2 separate regions of the Homo sapiens genome follow, and region 1 is linked to region 2. The links are contacts of gene promoters, found by promoter capture Hi-C in blood cells and fetal thymus (Javierre and others, 2016). All regions are on one chromosome and are shown on one strand. The core of a region is centred on a gene start or on the middle of the fragment in contact, and the rest is flanking DNA. Distances in the headings are between cores, read along the strand shown.

Region 1 (4,874 bases), core at 63-2,562, 290 kb before region 2:
AGGTGACTCATCTCTGAGCCACTATGCTCATAGGTAAAATGAGAATGAGGGCGGCTGTGTTACCGGATTCTTTGAGGTCATATCCAAAAAACACATAGCACAAAATAAATGCTCATGAGATGCAGAGGCCAGGTGTGGTGGCTTATGCCTGTGATCCCAGCACTTTGTTTTTCTGTTTGTTTTGTTTTGAGACAGAGTCTTGCTCTGTCACCCAGGCTGGGTGCAGTGGCAAGATCTCGGCTCACTGCAAACTCCACCTCCCAGGTTCAAGCGATTCTGCTGCCTCAGGCTCCCAAGTAGCTGGGATTACGGGCTCCCGCCACCAAGCCCGGCTAATTTTTGTATTTTTAGTAGAGATGGGATTTTGCCATGTTGGCCAGGCTGGTCTCGAACTCCTGACCTCGGGTGATCCACCTGCCTCGGCCTCCCAATGTGCTGGGATTACAGGCGTGAGCCGCTGCACCCGGCCACTGTAATCCCAGCACGTTGGGAGGCCAAGGTGGGAGGATCGCTTGAGTCCAGGAGTTCCAGACCAGCCCAGGAAACATAGTGAGACCCTGTCTTTACAGACAAAAAATTAGCTGGGTGTGGTGCCGTGAGCCTGTGGTCCCAGCTGCTCAGGAGCCTGAGGCAGGAGAATCCCTCAAGCCCAGCAGGTTGAGGCTGCAGTGAGCTGAGACTGCCAAAGATTGCGCCACTGCACTCCAGCCCAGGTGACAAAGCGAGACTCGGTCTCAAGAAAAAAAAAAAAGAAAAGATACAAAAAAAAACAAGAATAAACCCTATTGAATTGGAGGTACTGAGGTGAATTCATGGTTTTCAAAATATAAAGATAAATATAGAAATAAGTTTGTGTGTGTGTGTGTGTGTGTGTGTGTGTGTGTGTGTTCCCATTTATCTACTAAGAGGACCTGGGAGCCACATACCCCAGTAACAATGGGCACACTTAACACCCAGATCATTTCTAACTGCCAATCTCCACCTAGCCCAGGGCTTTTTGGAAAAATGAGAGCAGCCTGGGCAACATAGCAAGACCCATTTCTACAAAAAATTTAAAAATTAGCCAGGCGTGGTGGCGTGCTCCTGTAGTCCTAGTTACTTGGGAGGCTGAGGCAGGGTTGGGGGGGACAAAAGCCTAGAACATCTAGTTAGGCCAGGAAGGAAGAAAAAACGATCAGCAAAAAACCAATAGGAATATGTCAAAAGGACCCAGAAGCCAGAGAGAAAAGCTTTCACTGGCCAAATTAAAGATAATTTAAGCATCGAAGGGGAAAAAAAAGAACGTCAGCAAAATGGCAGAGTAAAATTTGCCTTTCTACAAAAGCAATGAAAAAAACTGGCAAAATTTGACAGAATCAACATTTTCACAACTCTGGAAATTAACCAAAAGCTTACAGTAATTTGCAGAGCATTTAATTAAAAAAAAAAACACATAAAAAAACAGCAAGCTCTGTAGAATTTTAACTCACTCTAGTCTTATTCCTGGCTCTCCAGCTCAGAGGGTAGCCTTGAAAAATAACAGCCCACAATCTTGATACCATACGGAAAAGAACAGAGGTGCGGCTCCTTCAAAACCTCATTCAGGATCATTCAAGAAGAGGTGTGTGTGTGTGTGTGTGTGTGTGTGTGTGTGTGTGTGTGTGTGTGTGTTTGAGACAGAGTCTCGCTCTGTCGCCCAGGCTGGAGTGCAGTGGCGTGATCTCGGCTCACTGCAACCTCCTTCTCCTGGGTTCAAGCGATTCTCCTGCCTCAGCCTCCGGAGTAGCTGCGATTACAGGTGCCCGCCACCATGCCTGACTCATTTTTGTGTTTTCAGCAGGGACAGGGTTTCACCATGTTGACCAGGCTAGTCTCAAACTGCTTACCTCAAGTGATCCACCCACCTCGGCCTCCCAAAGTGCCGGGATTACAAGCGTGAGCCGCCGCACCCAGCCAAGAAGAGTCATTTATTGACCTATTTATTGGTACTCTGGAAGACCCTGCTCTGAAAGACCTGACCTCACTTGAACTTGCCGGATGCTAAACATTTCTCCCCAGGGGCTATTTGTTAAATGTTTTAACATTGCAGCTGCCTGTGGCAATACTTAACAGTTGGGGAAATAATAGCCTAACTAAAAATCTTAGAAGGAAAAGCGCCAGGCGCGGTGGTTCACGCCTGTAATCCCAGCACTTTGGGAGGTCGAGGCGGGAGGATCACTTGAGGTCAGGAGATCGAGACCATCCTGGCTAACACGGTGAAACCCCGTCTCTACTGAAAATACAAAAAATTAGCCGGGTGTGGTGGCGGGCGCCTGTAGTCCAAGCCAGGAGAATGGTGTGAACCCAGGAGGCGGAGCTGGCAGTGAGCCGAGATCGCGCCACTGCACTCCAGCCTGAGCCACAGAGCGAGACTCCGTCTCAAAAAAAAAAAAAAAAAAAATCTTAGAAGGAAAAATGAAGACATTAGATGTTCGGAGGGACTTTTGAAAAATTCTGACATATTTCTGGGGATATGGAAGGCCACATGCTTAGGAAAGACCTGAGACAGCCCTAAGCTCACACCGCTGGCCGACTTCGAGGCTCTGTGTAAGCAGGAAGTGAGAGCTAAAGCACAGTTGTAAATTTCCTGGGTGAATGTTGAAGGTGTGTCCCTAATAAGTACACAGAGCTCCCTGGCAAAGACTGGCAGACTTCCGATTCCAGACATTCAAGGAAATCTCTGTCCAACCACTAGCTAACCATGAAGCTAACTGAGCAAAGACTTCAGTAGCCATGACAGAGAATATAGACTTTACAGAAGTAGTTTAGAAAAGTCATTTAACAGGCCTGGCACAGTGGCTCATGCCTGTAATCCCAGCACTTTGGGAGGCTGAGACAGGTGGATCACCTGAGGTCAGGAGTTCGAAACCAGCCTGACCAACATGGTGAAACCCTGTCTCTACTAAAAATACAAAAATTAGCCAGGTGTGGTGGGGTGTGCCTGTAATCCCAGCTACTCAAGAGGCTGAGGCAGGAGAATCGCTTGAACCCAGGAGGCAGAGGTTGCAGTAAGCCGAGATCACGCCATTGCACTCCAGCCTGGGCGACAGAGCGAGACTCCACCTCAAAAAAAACTATTTTTATAGTGACAGGGTCTCACTATGTTGCCCAGGCTGAGCTTGAGCCCCTGGGCTCAAGTGATCCACTGACTTTAGCTTTCCAAAGTGTTGGGATTACAGGCATGAGCCATCACACTCGGCCAGCTGTTGGCATTTAGAATAGTCTTTCTAGCAAGACCAATATTCCAGGACCATAAAAGCTGACTGAATATCTGTTCTAGGATGAGGGATAGGCTCCAGGGATTCCTTTCTTCCCTGGAAGGTTGACTCTTGTGTGTTGGGGAGTGGGGCAGGGGGGTGGGCTGGGGCCAAGGGCCAGGGAGGACAATTTGGTCCTGACTCTCTTATTTGGGGTCTTTATGGATCTGCTCTAACACCAGCCAGTTAGAGCCAGGAGACTGCAAGCTGGGACCTGTGCATTGATCAGGTATGCCTGAGGCCAATGGTGAAGGGAGGATGGACCCTTTGAATCCAGTTATTTGGCTCTCTGGGCTCCTGCCCTGAGGTTCCCTCCAGCCCTGCTGCCCCAGCATCTAAGCCTGGAGTACCAGGGGCTCGAGGGCATGCGTGAGCCATGGACAGGATCCTGGGGAAGTTCCAGCTTAACCTGGGGGCCTCTTCCTTCTGCCCCAGCCACAGCCGGTACTTACTCAGCTCCACCCCCAGGAAGAGACTCCTGGGCTTCTCCTGTCCACCTGTGCTTCCATTGTACATTTGTCACTACAACCTGGAAGAGGCTCTGCCGTTGAGGTTGTCAGTCAGCCTGGAAGTCAATCCTGTCAGTTCGTCTCTGTTGCTGTTCAGTGAGTCAGAGATCTCCACTTGATCATCAGTAAGTTAGACTAGATCTGTCTGTGGATCTTCCAAATTGCCACTTAACCCAGCTCAGCAAGCAGTTAGGCCACCAGGTACGCATTTCGACTTCCATCCCCCACCTGGGAGTCTTTCTCAGCTAGTTACTCTTTGAGCTAGGATGCATGATGGCCTGCAAAGATATCCAAGTCCTGGCCAGGCATGGTGGCTCACATGTGTAATCCCAGCAGTTTGGGAGGCTGAGGCGGGCGGATCACCTGAGGTCGGGAGTTCGAGACCGGCCTGACCAAGATGGTGAAACTCTGTCTCTACTAAAAATACAAAGTTAGCCAGGTGTGGTGGTGCATGTCTGTAATCCCAGCTACTCAGGAGGCTGAGACAGGAGAATCACTTGAACCTGGGAGGTGGAGGTTGCAGTGAGTTGAGATCATGCCATTGCACTCCAACCTGGGCAACAAGAGTGAAACTCCTTCTCAAAAAAAAAAAAAAAAAAGATATCCAAGTCCTAATCCCTGGATCCTATGAATGTCACCTTATATGGCAAAAAGAGACTTTGCAGATATGATTGCGATTTTAAGATAGAAAGATATTGTGTGCTAAATAATCTGTCTAGTCACTACCTCTGGTTCCTGGCAGGGGGCGTCTAAACTCTTGGAATTTTCCAAGTAATAGAAGTGTCTTAATGGCCAACAAACATATGGAAAAATGCTCAACATCACTAATGATCAGGGAGATGCAAATCAAAACCACAATGTGATACCACCTTACTCCTGCAAGAATGGCCATAATCAAAGACTCAAAAAATAATAGATGTTGGTGTGGATGTGGCAAACAGGGAACACTTTTACACTGCTGGTGGGAATGTAAACTAGTACAACCACTATGGAAAACAGCGTGGAGATTCCTTAAAGAACTAAAAGTAAAACTACCATTTGAGCCAGCAATCCCACTACTGGGTATCTATCCAGAGGAAAAGAAGTCATG
Region 2 (5,215 bases), core at 1,953-4,452:
TCTTCATAAACGGGTCTCAGGCCTTTGTGGCCTGGGTTCCTGACCAGGACTGAGCGCCGCATTTCAGGCGTGGATGTGCCCGCAGCTTCTGGGGCAAGACCTGCAAGGGCAAGGATAGAGGGTAGAGGGTAGGTGGGTTCTGTGGGAGCGGGGGTGTCTTTTGGAGTCTGGTTAGGGATGAGAGACGGGACCCGATTGTGCCCCCAGAACCCACTTCTTTTTTTTTTTTTTTTTTTTTTTGAGATGGGGTCTCGTTCTGTTGCCAAGGCTGGAGTGCAAAGGTACCATCTCGGCTCACTGCAACCTCCGCCTCCCAGGTTCAAACAACTCTCCTGCCTCAGCCTCCTGAGTAGCTGGGATTACAGGTGTCCACCACCATGCCTGGCTAATTTTTGTATTTTTAGTAGAGATGGGATTTCAGCATGTTAGACAGGCTGGTCTCAAACTCCTGACCTCAGGTGATCTGCATGCCTCAGCCTCCCAAAGTGCTGGGATTACAGGCGTGAGCCACCGCGCCCAGCCCCACTTCTTTATTTTTATTTTTTTGAGATGGGGTCTCACTCTGTCACCCAGGCTAGAGTGCAGTGATGTGATCATACATAGCTCACTGCAGACTGGAACTCCCGGGCTCAAGCGATCCTCCCACCTCGGCCTCTCAAGTAGCTGGAATTACAGATGCACCACCACACTCAGCTAACTTCAATTCTTTCTTTCTTTCTTTCTTTCTTTCTTTCTTTCTTTCTTTCTCTCTCTCTCTCTTTCTTTCTTTCTTTCCTTCCTTCCTTCTTTTCCTTCCTTCTCTCTCTTCTTCCTTCTTTCCTTCCTTCTTTCCTTTCTCTCTCCCTCTGTCTCTCTTTTTTGAGATGGGGTGTCGCTATGTTGCCCAGGCTGGTATCAAACTCCTGGACTCAAGCAAACCTCTGGCCTTGGCCTCAGAAAGTGCTGGGATTACAGGCATGAGCCACTGTGCCTGGCCAAACCCCACTCACTTCTGAGCATACACGTGGATCCTTCCCTTGTCTCTGACTGCAAGGAGATTTCTGACTTACCCCAGCCAGGGCAGGGAGTTGAGGGAACCAGGTGGGACATGGTAGGACCCTCCCCTCTCAGCCCCAAACCTGGACGGAGGTCATGAGACCCAGCACTAGAGGTTTCTAGTCCCCAACTCCATGGCTCTGCACCTCTCTCCAACCTGGGCTCCTCTTGTGGGAAGCTGGGGTCCTGTGGAGGAGACAGTCCTAGCTTCCTACCCCCTTGCTGGGCGTCCCCACATGGGGAACAGTGTGGGTGTCAGCGTTTCTGTGCTCCTGAGCACATGGCCTGAATTCTTGTCCCATACTTGGAGGCGGCAGATTAATTTAGGGGGCGAGTTCTGGTAGGGAGGCCCCCCTCCAGCAGCAGCATTCTGAGCTCTAGAACCCATGTCTGGGGGATAAGAATATGGAACAAATAACATCAGGTATCCCTCCCAAGTCACTGGGGAAAGACAAGAAGACTCTGGCTTGCCCTCTGGGGAAAAGAAAACCTGAATTCCAGAGCTCACAGCTCCAGGTGGGAGTCAGTGTCAAATCCTCTCTCTTAGACAGATCGGAAATGCCCTTTCCTACAGCCAGATAGTGAGCATGGTAGAGTGATATTTGGGACCCCTCCTGGTGAGGAGGGATGGGTAGGGAGACTCATGAACCCCATAGGCAGGATGGTGGGGACAGTTGTTAGTATACCTGTTTTATTTATTTATTTATGTTTGAGATGGGGTCTTGGTATGTTGCCCAGGCTGGACTCAAACTCCTGGGCTCAAATGATCCTCCCACCTCAGCCTCCCAAAGTATGGTGATTACAGGCATGAGCCACCATGCCCGGCCAGTATACCTGTTTTCCCTATTGGCTAGAAGGTCCTGCATTTTAACTTCTAGCTGGAGGATAGGCAAAAATAATACCTGGGGACCCTCTGAAGTTAATGGGGGAACGCCTGAGTCATCTCCTCCCATGGCTGGGACATGGCGGGTAGTGTCAGCACACTTGTAGCCCTTCCTGCAGGAAGGATCCTGAACTGAATTGCCAGCTTGTGGCTAGGGGCAGACTGGGAGGTAGAGGGACAAAAGCTGGAACCACTTCTGGGGAGCAATGGGAGCCCAGGATGACCTGCCGGGAGGATGCCTTGAGCTCCCCACCCCATGGCTGGGTGTTGAGGTGTCAACAATGAATGATCTGCTCCTGGGAGAAGCTGTGGGGGGACCTGTGGCTCCCCTTCTGGGGAAAGGAATACACTGAGCCACAACCCCATAGCTGGGAGTGTGCAGGCAAACAGAGCCGAGTTCCTGGACGGCGGTCCTCAACCCAGACCCCATAGTTGGAGAGTGGGGGAAACAAGACCTGGGACCCCTCCTGCATCAGGGGCAGAGGAACCCTTAGATTGCCTCCAGGGGAAGGAGCCCCCTGAATTCCCATCTCTTAACTGGAAGGTGGGAGGAGAAATCACTTAAGTCTTTCCTGAGTTCCCAGGGGTGAGGGCAGGTGGACCCCTGGATCACCTCCAGGGAAAGGAGCTTCCAGAACTGCAGACCCCAAGACTGGAGGGGCAAGGGAACAATCGCTGGGACCCTTCCTAGGGTCCTGGGGGAAGAGGGAACCCCTAGGTCCCCCTTTTGAGGACAGGGCCTCCTGAACTCCAGACCCCAGGCGGGAGGTGGGAACAATACCTCGAATCAGGAGGGGAGGGGGTCCTGGATCGCCTCCTAGGGAGGGGGCGTCCTGAGCTCCAGACCCCAGAGCTGGCGGGCGCCCCCCACCCCGCCCGATTGAAGGCTCCCAACCTCCTGGCCCTTTCCCCCCGGGCCCCAGCGGCGGGATGGGTGCGCTAGGCCGGAGCTGGCCGCAGAGTCCCCTCCCCATCGCTCCCGCGACCCCCGCTCGCCTGGGCCAGGGCCGGCGGCGCGCAGGGCGGGGGACGATTAGAGGTCGCCCCGGGCTGCGCCCCGCGCCTGGAGCTCCCCCGCCCGCCCGCCCCCCACCCAGCCCCCCGCCCCGGCCCCAGCCCGCTCGCAGGGACACTCACCCGGCGCCCCTCGCCCCTGCCCGGCCCGCCGCGCCCGCGCCGGCCGCCGGCTCCCCCCGGGCCCGCAGGAAGCCCCCCGCCCGCCAGCCCCGCCGGCGGCCCCCTCGGCCCAGCGGCCCCGCCAGGCGCTCCCGGGGAGCGAGAGGGGCCGGCCGAGGGCCGCAGCGGGAGCTGCTGGGACTTGTAGTTCGCCCGCGCCCGCCGCGGCCGTCGCCATCGCTGCCCCCGCCCCCCGGGCAGGCCTTTGTCCCCGGCCAGGCCACCCCGACCGCGCGGCCGCGCCTTTGTCTGCACCGTGCCCCGCCCGCACGCAGCCCTGGCCCCATCCCTAGTCTCCTCCTGGGCCTGTCTCAGTCCCTCTGTGGCCCTGGCCCTATCTCTTTCTCTCCATCCCTGTCCCTCTCTCTGTCTCTCTCCGTCCCTATCTCTCTATCTCTGTTCATTCTCTGTCTCTGTCCCTGTCTTCCCATCTCTGTTCCTTTCTCTGTGTCTCTGTCCCCATCTCTTTCTCTGTGTTCCAATCTCTTTGCCTCTGTTGCTTTCTCTGCCTCTATCTCTCTCTGTGTCTGTCTGTCTCTCTCTCTCTGTCTCTGCCTCCTGCCCATGTCTCTGACTCTATCTTTGTTCGTAAAACTCTACACATGTTGTTCTTGGAGACTTGCAGCGCACATAGGCACAGCCAAGCCTCTCAGCTCTGCAATCTAAAAACATGTCTATTTTTGCTTAACCTGGCCTTCCTCCAATTTTTCCTTTTTGCATGGTGAAACCCGTCACCCTTTCTGGGTAACACCCGCCAAGGCACAGATTTGGGATATTCCTCCTCTAGTGTTTTCAGCCTCCTACCCAGATGGTGGGTCACCGCTGTCCCTGGAGGCCTCCAAGTGCTAGATGTGAGTGATGGTTTCCGGAGAACCCTACGCCGGGCCGGGAAGGGCTCGGGGCAAACTTTCCTTGGAGACACAGATCCCCGCTGCCAGCCAGGAGAGAGAGTGGAAATCAGCTCCTGATGGCTGGGCCGCGATGTTCTCCACTAAATATAAACAATGGTCACAGAATATAAACAATGATGAGGCAAGGCCACTCTGTGACCATGTCTGAACCAAGATAGAGACATGGGCCCTGTGCAACCACAAAAATGAGTTCTCATCCCCCTCTCCAAGTGAACACAAATGACTGCCACTTCTTACCGACGACAATTCCAACCCAACTGCCATCCTCCCACCTCTGAGACAAAAATCACTGAAATACCTAGTCAGCAAAGCGCTCCCAGGTTCCCGACAATACCACCCTAGTAATTCTCTGTAAAACCACCCAGTATAGGCTGGGTGCGGTAGCTCATGCCTGTAATCCCAGCACTTTGGGAGGCCAAGGCGGGTGGATCTTGAGGTCAGGAGTTTGAGACCAGCCTGGCCAGCATGGTGAAATCCTGTCTCTACTAAAAATACAAAGATTAGCCAGGCGTGGTGGCAGGCACCTGTAATCCCAGCTACTCGGGAGGCTGAGGCAGGAGAATTGCTTGAACCCAGGAGGTGGAGGTTGCAGTGAGCCGAGATTGCACCACTGCACTCCAGCCTGGGCAACAGAGCGAGACTCCGTCTCAAAAACAAAAACAAAACAAAAAATGCAAACCACCAAGTACAAGCCCAAATTCTATAAGATACTCCTCTGTCCCCATGTCCTCCTTATAGAGACACCCTATGGTTCCTTCTTCCTTCCTGAACCTTCTAGATGTGTGTTAGACTCAGCCTGAGACCTGCTTTCCATCTTTCCGCAGAGCCCACAGCAGATCTGAGAGATTGGAGATAACTTCAATTGGATTATGCCCCTGGTTCCTTATCCTGACACTTCCTGGATGATCCCATTACAAATACATGTGATGACATCTGTTGTTTCTTTGGCTCAGAATCTAACAGTACTTTCTTTTCCTTTGTGGGGTCCCCTCCACTACTCCAGATGCACATGTGTCTAACACCCCTTCCCAGTCCCACGTGAGCTGGACTCTAATCAAAGGGCCCCTATCCCCTGGCCACAATAATTAGGTATGGGTTGAGAAGGTGACATTGGAGGTTCTCACTCTACTTCTGGGGTTATGAGCCACAGGGGGCTCATTCTGCCTGCAGCCACTTTCCCCAGTTGTTCAAAAGAACGGTCTGCAGACTG

Evidence for each region. Contacts are between HindIII fragments. The CHiCAGO score rates a contact against its expected background, and 5 or more counts as called.
Region 1: a contact is called between a fragment that was not itself captured here and the fragment with the promoter of ZNF358 in region 2, in 1 of 17 cell types (M1 macrophages). The highest score is 5.7, in M1 macrophages.

What each region holds. Positions count from the first base shown.
Region 1 is chr19:7,802,847-7,807,720 of GRCh38, reverse strand. The region is part of intron 1 of LOC124904628 (a long non-coding RNA gene); the gene reads right to left. Among named protein-coding and RNA genes, the nearest start is that of EVI5L, 25 kb to the left of the region's middle. The HindIII fragment of the contact is 161 bases long and covers 1,232-1,392 here.
Region 2 is chr19:7,514,090-7,519,304 of GRCh38, reverse strand. It overlaps ZNF358 (zinc finger protein 358), which reads right to left and starts at 3,202. Exons shown (of 2, transcript NM_018083.5): 1 at 3,056-3,202; 2 at 1-100. The coding sequence starts at 62. It overlaps LOC105372261 (a long non-coding RNA gene), which reads left to right. Exons shown (of 3, transcript XR_936294.3): 3 at 4,830-4,952. RefSeq lists a silencer at 3,121-3,370. The HindIII fragment of the contact is 10,458 bases long and covers 1-5,215 here.